Linked DNA regions of Homo sapiens: all the other regions are linked to region 1. The links are contacts of gene promoters, found by promoter capture Hi-C in blood cells and fetal thymus (Javierre and others, 2016). All regions are on one chromosome and are shown on one strand. The core of a region is centred on a gene start or on the middle of the fragment in contact, and the rest is flanking DNA. Distances in the headings are between cores, read along the strand shown. Region 1 holds the start of CHPT1 (choline phosphotransferase 1). Region 2 has its middle 23 kb from the start of MYBPC1. Region 3 overlaps GNPTAB (N-acetylglucosamine-1-phosphate transferase subunits alpha and beta). Region 4 overlaps GNPTAB (N-acetylglucosamine-1-phosphate transferase subunits alpha and beta).

What was found. The method cuts DNA at HindIII sites, captures the fragments that hold promoters and counts their contacts. A CHiCAGO score of 5 or more calls a contact.
Region 2: a contact is called between a fragment that was not itself captured here and the fragment with the promoter of CHPT1 in region 1, in 4 of 17 cell types (total B cells, naive B cells, M0 macrophages and 1 more). The highest score is 10.7, in total B cells.
Region 3: a contact is called between a fragment that was not itself captured here and the fragment with the promoter of CHPT1 in region 1, in 1 of 17 cell types (neutrophils). The highest score is 5.5, in neutrophils.
Region 4: a fragment that was not itself captured here is called in contact with the fragment with the promoter of CHPT1 in region 1 in 3 of 17 cell types (total B cells, naive B cells and neutrophils); the score reaches 9.2 in total B cells.

What each region holds. Positions count from the first base shown.
Region 1 is chr12:101,696,353-101,698,901 of GRCh38, forward strand. It overlaps CHPT1 (choline phosphotransferase 1), which reads left to right and starts at 1,288. Exons shown (of 9, transcript NM_020244.3): 1 at 1,288-1,782. The coding sequence starts at 1,510. RefSeq lists an enhancer at 762-1,011 and silencers at 1,232-1,571, 1,832-2,021. The HindIII fragment of the contact is 18,657 bases long and covers 1-2,549 here.
Region 2 is chr12:101,570,341-101,572,889 of GRCh38, forward strand. No RefSeq gene overlaps it. Among named protein-coding and RNA genes, the nearest start is that of MYBPC1, 23 kb to the right of the region's middle. The HindIII fragment of the contact is 4,032 bases long and covers 1-2,549 here.
Region 3 is chr12:101,798,038-101,800,586 of GRCh38, forward strand. All of the region lies in intron 1 of GNPTAB (N-acetylglucosamine-1-phosphate transferase subunits alpha and beta), which reads right to left. Among named protein-coding and RNA genes, the nearest start is that of GNPTAB, 32 kb to the right of the region's middle. The HindIII fragment of the contact is 3,127 bases long and covers 1-2,549 here.
Region 4 is chr12:101,766,600-101,769,148 of GRCh38, forward strand. GNPTAB (N-acetylglucosamine-1-phosphate transferase subunits alpha and beta) reads right to left here. Exons shown (of 21, transcript NM_024312.5): 11 at 1,438-1,561. Among named protein-coding and RNA genes, the nearest start is that of SYCP3, 28 kb to the left of the region's middle. RefSeq lists an enhancer at 902-1,071 and a cis regulatory region at 987. The HindIII fragment of the contact is 1,514 bases long and covers 510-2,023 here.

The DNA of each region.
Region 1 (2,549 bases), core at 38-2,537:
TATTCCTAAGACATATACGCTTGGTCTGTAGAGACCCTCATTGCTCTAAGGCAGTGGTTGCCAGTTTTTTCCTTAAAGGGCCTAGTAGGACATAGTCCAGGCTTTGCCAGCCATACGGTCTGTCACAACTGAATTCTGCTGCCCTTGTAGCATGAAGGCAGCCAAACAATAGGTAAGGAATAAACATGGCTTTATTCGTGGCACTGAACTTTGAATTTCATATAATTTCACAACACAAAATTGTATTCTTTTGATTTTTTCCAATCATTTAAAAATGTCAAAACCATACTTAGCTGGAGGGCTGTAGGAAAACAGGTGGTGGGCTGGGTCTGGCACACAGGCAGCAGTTCGTGGACCCCTGTGCCAAGTGTTTGACGAAGCCCGTGAGGCAAACTGCACTTGCCGATAGAGGTTGCGCCACACAAGTGTCTTGGAAGCAATTTCTGGCTTGTCCTAGGCCTTAGAAAGTGCGTGCAGATCAGAGCCATGAAGTGAAGAGCAAAGCAAGTGACAGGCCTGTCTCAGGTTGTGCAACAGAACGTGTTTATGACAGATGTCCCCTGTCCAAGTGAGTGCACTGTGAGATAAGGGGCCGGTGACCTACCAATGCGTGTGGCAAGCCAGCCTGTTCCCCCTTGCAGGGGGAGGACACTCCTGCCCTTTATTCCAGGGAAGAGTATGTGTAAAAATATTCACCCTTGTTGGTATCAAATGCGCTGAAGAAAATAGGTATCGGGGTTTCAGCCATTCGGTCTCCTTGTTAGTGTTTCTAAGCCCTGATTTTCAGTTTCAAAACCTTGGTCTCTGAATCCGCAGTGATGGGTCTCTAGAGCGAATACATGGCAGGGCCGCCTTCCTCCGTACAGAAAGGGAGAATTGTGCTTGTGTGTTTTACCAAGCAGGACAGATGGGGCCGTCACCCCCGTGACCCGAGCCCTGCAAAACTGTGTTCTCACACGAAAACCCCCAGGCTCTGCGGGCAGCGTGGTCCTGCAGTGGCTAACACTGGGCGACCGGAGTCGTGTTCCGACCCCTAGGAGAGGAACCGGCTCGGTCGTGGTGCAGCCCGCGAGGAGACGACCTCAGGGCGTAATCCGACGCCGTGGGTTAAGACATCAGACCTCAGGCGCAGTGCAGCCGGCCCCTGGGGAGTCAAGGACCTTGATCGCCGATAACAAGTTGCCGTTGGCGGGCGCCGAGGGTGACCCGCGAGCGCGGCACCCGCCTCCCCGCCCCTAGCAGGACCCCCTCCGCCCCGCCCCCAGCCGGACCCCTCCCCGAGGCCCCGCCCCACCCGCGAGCCGCAGCCGCGGCCCCACAGCTTCTGGGGCTGGGGCCCCGGCAGCCGGGCAGGCCGGCCTGACCTCGACCTCCGCCGTGCGGGCCCGACCGGTGAGTCCAGCCCGGCAGTCGCAGGACCCGGCCGCCAGCCTCTCCCTCCACCTCTCCCTGCCCCCAGCGCCAGGCGCGGGCTGCGCTCGGTGGCGGCGGCGGGGCCCTCAGGCGGCCATGGCGGCAGGCGCCGGGGCCGGGTCCGCGCCGCGCTGGCTGAGGGCGCTGAGCGAGCCGCTGAGCGCGGCGCAGCTGCGGCGACTGGAGGAGCACCGCTACAGCGCGGCGGGCGTCTCGCTGCTCGAGCCGCCGCTGCAGCTCTACTGGACCTGGCTGCTCCAGTGGATCCCGCTCTGGATGGCCCCCAACTCCATCACCCTGCTGGGGCTCGCCGTCAACGTGGTCACCACGCTCGTGCTCATCTCCTACTGTCCCACGGCCACCGAAGAGGTAGGGCTGGCCGATCGCCCGAGCCGGGCCCCAGATGCGCTGCGGGCGGGTCGCTGGAGGCGCCGGGGGAAGGGCGGACCCACGCGCGGCTGAGCCTCTCCCGGGCCCCGGAGGGGCGGACTGGCCACTGCCCCGGGCGGTGTCCGCCCTGGGCCGCCTGGAGACTGTCACGCCACTATCCCAATCCCGTGACCATCCCAAGCCTCCCCTGGGCAGCGGAGGGGCTGTTAAGGTCACTGCCCCAGGTCCTATGTCCGCGCAGATCCTCCCCACGGCCGCGGACGGGCCGGAGGGCGCCTGCCCAGCCGCTATCCCATGCGGCGCCAACCTGTGAGACGGACCCGCGGTCGGGTGCTTTGCACACTGGGGACTGAACACCCCCATCTCCGTCCTGCCTGGCACAGGGACTTGTGCCAAGCCCGAGACGCCCTTTGAATACTTTCGTAACCGTTCGTTTCTGGAAGGTTGAGCTAGTGATCTTGAAATGACCGGTAGCACTGATCAAAGATGAGTTAAGAGGTAACTTCCTCTTTGCTTCATCGACTTTTTCAAGAAAAACAAACTGGAATGTTATCAAGGCAATAATTTTTTTGTCATCACAACCTAGGGATTAAAAAAACCCCAACATTTTATTAGCAATAATTACATTTGACCTTTGTACAAAATAAGGAGTAAATATAGGCTTTGGATAGCTGTTCATCAGAAGCACCCTTTGGGCTGAGTGTGGAGGGATAGGGGGCAGAGTGGAGTTCACTCCCATCTATAGT
Region 2 (2,549 bases), core at 24-2,523, 130 kb before region 1:
AGTTCCAGGATGCTGATACTTTAAGCCCGAGGCTCTAACTTGAGCAGGAAGAGTTTATTTTGGGATGAAGAATCTTCCCCCATAGGAGGGCCTCTCAACCAGTGTCTCTCTTTCTCTGTCTTTAGAAACCAGGAAATTCTAGAGGAGAAAATTGGTTTTCTGCATCTGCAGAATGACTTCTTTCTCTTAAAAATATCAGACTCATATTTTGGCTGAATTTACTCCGTTTATAGAGGGGACTGCAGAGTTGCAAGGACTTTAAGGTTTTGTGTTGAGAGTGGTTTTAGTCAATTATATTAAGAAAATTACTCTTGAATATGTGAAGTTGATGGGATGAATATATACATAATGTCCATTTCATTAAAACTATAAATATGTGCATTAAAATGGCCATGGAGGAAGGCAGGAACTGCAGACTCTAAGTGGGAAAAACGTGATAACACATCAGTTTGTTTTGTGTTGTTCTCTATGTGCAGGTGTTAGTTTTCTTTAAAAAAGAAAGGCTGAGTGTAAGAGTTTAATATTCTTTATTTTTTATTTTACTTGTGGATTAATTTTTGAGACAGGGTCTAGCTCTGTCACCCAGGCTGGATTGCAGTGGTTCAATCATAGCTCACTGCAGCCTCAACCTCCTGGGCTCAAGCAATCCCCCTGCCTCAGCTTCCCAAGAAGCTGGGACTGTAGGCACATGCCACCATGGCCAGCTAATTTTTTTTTTTTTTTAATGTAGAGATGTTACACGCTATGTTGCCCAGGCTGGTCTTGAATTCCCAGGCTCAAGTGATCCTCCCACCTTAGCCTCCCAAAGGGCTGGGATTACAGGCATGAGCCGTCACACCCAGCCTGCCCTTTCTATAAATATGGATATGTCCTGACAGAGTTCTTGTCTCAAAGAACATTTCAAGCATGTGAGGCTTTCTCGGAGTAGATAAGAAAGACGAGCTTTTGGGTATGTTTGGAAAGGAAAAAATAACAAATTTATTATACATTTGGCCAACTATGCCATGTGTGAAAATTCTTTGAGTCCTCTGGGGAAGATTTTGTACCACCACATATGGGATTTGCTTATCATCACCATAGCCTGCAAAAGTATAGTTCTTTTAAAAAAATCCAGATCTGGTCGGGTGCAGTGGCTCATGCCTGTAATCCCAGCACTTTGGGAGGCCAAGGAGGGGGGATTACTTGAGGTTAGGAGTTCGAGACCAGCTTGGCCAATGTGGTGAAACCCTGACTCTACAAAAATTATCCGGGCATGGTGGTGTGCACCTGTAATCCCAGCCACTAGGGAGGCTGAGGCAGGAGAATCTCTTGAACCCGGGAGGCGGAGGTTGCAGTGAGCTGAGATTGCCCCACTCCAGCCTGGGCAACAGAGAGAGACTCCATCTCAAAAAAAAAAAAAATCCAGATCTTCTTCCCCTCCTCTTCTTTCCCTTTCAACCCCAGATAGAGCATTTAAGGTTAGAGTCCATTATAGAAGAATATTTCATAAACAATTAGGTGATATGGCCCAATAAAACAACAAATATCTTTGTTTTTGTTCTCATTTAGGTTGACCCCTGTGCTCCAAGAACATCATGATATTGTTATTGGGAAAAAAATAAGTGGTGAATTTTCCATTTAAGAAATTAAATAATGTAGAATTATTTGCTCCCTTATTTATGCAAACACATTTTCTTTTTTTTTTATTTTATTGTTTTACAGGTGTTTTTCACATTTTCTTTTTTAGCTACAACTTTGGGTTTTAAAAAAATCTGCTTGTTCATTCTCTGTCTGATATAACACTAAAATTTCACCTTACTGTACCTTGAGATTTTAAACGAAAGATATATGGTAACTTTGGTAGGAAATGGGAGAGAAAACTGATTTTTAGTATGACTTATAAACAGAATATGATACAATGCTCAGCTTGGTATTAGGCTGTTAAAAGTAACCATAAAACTGTTCAGTGCAGAATTCCTTTTATATCAGCTTTCTTAGTGTATTTAATGTTGATGGTTTTAGATCATTAGCAACTTGACAAAAAAGCTGACGTGTCAATGAGCAGCCACAAATGAAGAATAGGCCTTTTGAAATTATAAAGTTATTGGGTTTGATGGTGTTATATTTACAGTGGCCTTTTCGAAATACCCCTATTGCATAAAGCGAGCTACATCTGTGGGAATCATTCCTCTGGACCAATCAGCTACAGCTATTCAGCCCTTAAAAGTCTAAAATGGGTAAAGGATTTAATAGACATTTCTCCAAAAGAGACATAAAAATGGGCGACAGGTATATGAAAATGTGCTCAACATCACTAATCGAAACCACTGTGTCGCCTCACACCAGCTAGGATGGGCTATCATAAAAAAGATAAGAGATAACAAATGTTGGTGAGGGTGTGTAGGAGAGGGAACCCTTTTACACTGCTGGTGGGAATACAGATTGGTGTAGCCATATAAAAAAAGCAGAATGAAGGTTCCTAAAGAAACTAAAAATAGTACTACCACATGACCTAGAAATCCTCCTTCTGGGTATATACCCCCCAAAAATGAAATCACCGCTTTGTAAAG
Region 3 (2,549 bases), core at 16-2,515, 100 kb after region 1:
CTTTCAAGGTCATCTCCTGCTTTCCCACTCACCCTTCAGCTCACTCCAGTATCACTTATGTTTTCACCACTTTAGTGGCCTTACCAAGGCCCCCACATTGTCAAACTCAACGGCATTTTCCTCATCTCTTACTCAAGTATTCATAGCAGTTGCCCAGTTCCTCTTTGTGGAAATGTTTTCTTGGTTTTCCCTCCTGTCGCCCTGGTGGCTCCTTTTCCATCTCCTTTGCCAGCTCATTCCCTTCTATCTAATCTTTCTGTGTGTCCTTTCCTTCTACTCTACATGCCCTCCTTCCTGACCAGGCTTCCTCCAGCATCCTATTCCACTGCCCCTAAGAAGTGGCCCTGCTACATTCAGATGGGCTGTGGGGCCCAGGCATTTAGAATTCATTCCAACTGCAGAAAGGAAAGGGAAAGACATGCCCCACCTTTAAGGAGACATCATGGAAGCTGCACCTACCACTTCTGTTTTCATTATCCAGAACTTACACAAATCTATTATATTATAAAAAGTTAAAATGTATCAAAACTTATACAAACACAGACTGTACATGGTACCGTTTGCAATTGAGAGAGGTAAACAAACATAAAAATGCAGCAATAAATCATAACCGAATAAAATCAACTGTAGTATATACTGTACTAAAATAATTTTGTACCCATCTCCTGTTACTATTGCAGCGAGCTCACATGTTGCGAGTATCTGTAGTGACACTAATTATCTCCACGTGAGCAGTTTGTCTCTCTAGTAAACTGCATGTTGCGGTAAAAAGTGATCTCTCATGTTTCTTACGTATTTTTCATATTTAGTGCAATACCGTAAACTGCGAAGAACATCATGGGACTCTTAGAAAGTGCCACTAGTGCCGATGGAAGTGCTCCCAAGAAGCAGAGGAAAGTCATGTCATTACAAGAAAAAGTTGAATGGTTTGACACGTACCATAGATTGAGGTCTGCAGTGGTGGTTGCTGGCCATTTCAAGACAAAAGAATTTAGCTAAGAATCATTGTTTTTTAAAAAAAAAGGCAATGAAAAATTATGAAGCTGTCACTCCCAGCTAGAAAACTGCATTTTTTGCTAAATGCCTCTTTATCTTGTATTGAAAATGCGCTTTAACGTGGGTCCAGAATTGCTATAAGAAACACATACCTACAGACTAACATAATGCAAGAAAAAGCAAAGTTGTTAGATAACAACTTAAAGCAAAAGGACAATAAGGGTCTAAAGCAGGAGAATGTAATGCCAGCAAAGACTGGTTTGATCATTTTAAAAAGAGATTTGGCTTAAAAATGTCAAGATAACAGGAGATGCACCTGCAGACCAAAAGGCAGAAGATCAGTTCCCAAAGAAAATCATCGATGAGAAAGGATATCTGCCTGAACATGTTTTTAATACAGATGAAATTTAATCATGGGAAAAATGTGACAAAGAACATTTATTAGTAAGGAAGAGAAGCAAGCATCAGGATTTAAAGCAGGAAGGGAAGGGACAGGCTGACTCTACTGTTTTGTGCAAATGCTGTTGGGCTTTCCTTACCTGTAATGCTGCTAACCCCCAAGGCTTGATGGAAAAAAATTAACACCAACAGTCAGTGTTTTGGTTGTACAACAAGAAAACCTGAACAAGAGTTCTTTTACTGGACTGGTTCCTTGGATGCATTGTCTCTGAAGTCAGGAAGTACCTTGCCAGTAAGTACTTCTATTAAAGTTCTTTTGATTGGACAATGCCCATGGCCACCCAGAACCCCATGAGTTCAACACTGAAGGCACTGAAGTGGTCTACCTGCCGCAAAACACAGCATCTCTAATCAGCCTCTAGATTTGGGGTGGGGGTGGGAGGGAAGAGGAGGGGCATAAAGATCTTTAATGCTCATTACACATGGTACTCTATGGAAAGAATTGCCAACGTTGTAGAAGAGAACCCCAATAGAGAGAACTTTTGGTTTTGGTTTTGTTCTGACTTGTTTCCATACACTTGTACGTGTACTTGAGTTTGTTGGACACTGGTCCAAACCCCAAACATTCCCTGACAGGGCTTATAAGGTTCTTATTTTGCTCTTGGGAGATTAATGAGAAGCAGAATGGGATCCTAAAATGCTAAAGCATGCAATCATAGTCCCTCTCCTGGGACCTCTGCCAGCTAGCTACATGTTCAAAAATTATCTTTGGCCAGGTGTGGTGGCTCACACCTGTAGTCCTAGCACTTTGGGAGGATGAATTGGGAGGATCGCCTGAGCCCAGGAGCTCAAGACCAGCCTGAGCAACACAGTGAGACCTCGTCTCTATTTTTTCCCTATTATAAAAAATTTTTTAATTAAAAAAAAATTATGGTCTTCTCTTGCGAACAATTTTAAATCAATGGATAGAGAACATCAAAACTAATTTGGATGGCCATCCTGGAGATCTTTTGGGTCCGCAAACTTGTCTTAGAACAAAATTAGGGCTAGGTGCAATGGCTCATGCCTGTAATCCCAGCACTTTGGGAGGTCGTGGAGGGAGGATCACTTGAGGTCAGGAGTTCAAGATCAGCCTAGCCAACATGGTGAAACCC
Region 4 (2,549 bases), core at 17-2,516, 70 kb after region 1:
TGCACTCCAGCCTGGGCAACAAGAGTGAAACTCCGTCTCAAAAAACAAAAAACGAAAAAGACAGTTCCTTATTTCATATTGATGTTTTCAAGGTTGATGTGTAAGTTTTAGTCAGAAAAGGTTCACCTCATTCTTTAGTAGAAGATCTCATATACCTTAAGAAGAAAATAAACGTAAAAGGGAGTCACTTGACAGAAGCGTGATGAACAGGCCCTGGCATTTTGTAGCTGTGCAACCTACAAGTACAGGGCTTACATTTGCTCAAGGGGCACGTGCTGACAGAAATGGAGGAGCACGAAAACAAGAAGAGATTATTCCAAAGACTGTGACTATCAGAACTGCCAAAAACATGTCCAAACGTGGGTAACATGTTTGATACCCCTTGTTATCAAATGCTAATGTTCCAGTAGAGACTGACTTCTCTGGTCTACACAGATCTACTTTGCACATCTGTATTCTCTCTCCTCAGCTAAAGCGCATCTGACATATCTGACTGAAATACAACTTGAAGCTTTGTTTTCTCCAATATTCAAACATTTCCAAATCCATTTCTTCATATGGAAATGGGGATGATAACATTTGTGTACATACTTACTCTCTCTCTCTCTCAGGTAACAAACACAATTCAAGTGAATATAATGAATAATGCTCTATAAATTTAATGCTTTATAAATTGAAAGGTAGTAAGTAAATGTAACAAATTGCTATTATCAACAAGTCAAAATATAACTATGTGAGGGAGAGGGAAGAGCTGCTGAGGAGAGAAAATACTTATTTCTTTTGCAACTCTTTAGTAATTCTGTGACCTATCACAATCTGCTGCTGAAAGCTACCAGCAGTGAGCTCCTATAAGAACCAGTTAGAGTGATTCTTGCTCTTGGATTTATATAAGTGTATTCCAGATTTTCATATTTTAAATAAGAAGACATTTTCAAGTGTATTTTCTCTTGTTCAATGCCCTCAACAATGAATAAACTGGGCCACATGAGGGCACTAATTACCACCTCCAAAGAGTCCATTGATTACTGATTTGTTTGTTTTGAGAGAGGCTGTCACTCTGCCGCCCAGGTTAGAGTACAATGGTGCAATCACAGCTCACAGCAGCCTCTAACTCCTAGGCTCAAATGATCCTCTTGCCTTAGCCTCCCAAGTAGCTAGGACTACAGGTTTGCACCACCACACTTGGCTAATTTTTTTTGATAGAGATGGGGTCTTACTATGTTGCCCAAGCTGGTCTTGAACTCCTGGCCTCAAGCACTCCTCCCAGCTCAGCTTTGCAAAGCACTGGATTATAAGCATGAGCCACCATGCCCAGCATTACTGATTCTTTATTAATACATAAAGAATGTTTGGTTAAGTCTATAGCACATGTTCAATAATGATTAAGAAGAAAATATTCCATAAAAATGAACGAATTACAGTTTAACACATCCTTACCAGAGCAATCCCCACCATCCCAATCGCAGGCTGAATTATTACAAGCCTTGTCACAATAGCCATCCTTAATCCAGGAACCTGGGCAGCCCTCGGCACAGTTTGGCACAGGCCATGTCAAATAAACCTACGATAAAACCAAAGAGAAAATAAAATGACTTCTGGCTTCTGATACATTTTATTCTTGAGTTAAGATTCCCTTTATAAAAAGAAATTAAGTCTCTAGAAAGATTAAAATTTTCAAAGGGCTCAGCGTTCACACTCACAAGTGCTTTAAGTTTGCCTGTACCTACAGTCATTGTTTAGATCCTGCTGCGTTGACCGTTCTTACTGAGCGTATTTACTTTTTTTCCATTACTCAAGGAAAGCAGACAAGGATTCAACTCATGGATTAGTCTCTCATAACATGCTTTGATAATCTACTATGAAATAAAGTAGCACCATGCCAGACTTGACTGCAAGTACCAAAGCATGTCAAAGCTGGTGGGAAGTATGCACAGTCACTGCTTTTCTGTAACTATCAGTAGCTCATTAGTGTATTTGTGCATAATCTTGTCTCAAGGCTGAGAGACAATATCCTCTCTCTTCAAGCTTAAGGCCCTGTGATAAATTAACTGGCATAGCATTCTGAGCTGTGCATTCACCTGCTCTCAGAATTAGTGATGGGGTACATGGTTTTTCAAATTTAAAATCATTGAAAAAAAATACACTCCTCTTTAAAAATCTCTGTGCCTTTGCATATTCTAATTGGAATGTCTTTTTTAACCTAAACTAATTCTTACTTGTTCTTCTCAGTACATGTCAATTCAGATGGGCTTTCTTCCCTATCCTATCTGATTTAAGCCTCCTTTGCTCACACTCCTCAGCACCAAGGCACACCTGTCAGCAGGAAAAGCACCACACAGTCATTGATCTTGTTTGTCCCCTTGTTAAGCCACAAGCTCAACTTTGAGCCCTACAGTCTGATACAGAGGAGACAACTCAATAGGGGAACAGGAGAATGGGCCTGGTTGGGTAGCATAAACAATTACAGACAAAGTAGTTTTGTGTTATTAGCACTTACAGTTGCAGAGTTTTATAACTTCTAAGTTTACGGTGATAAGTCTCTAACTTAT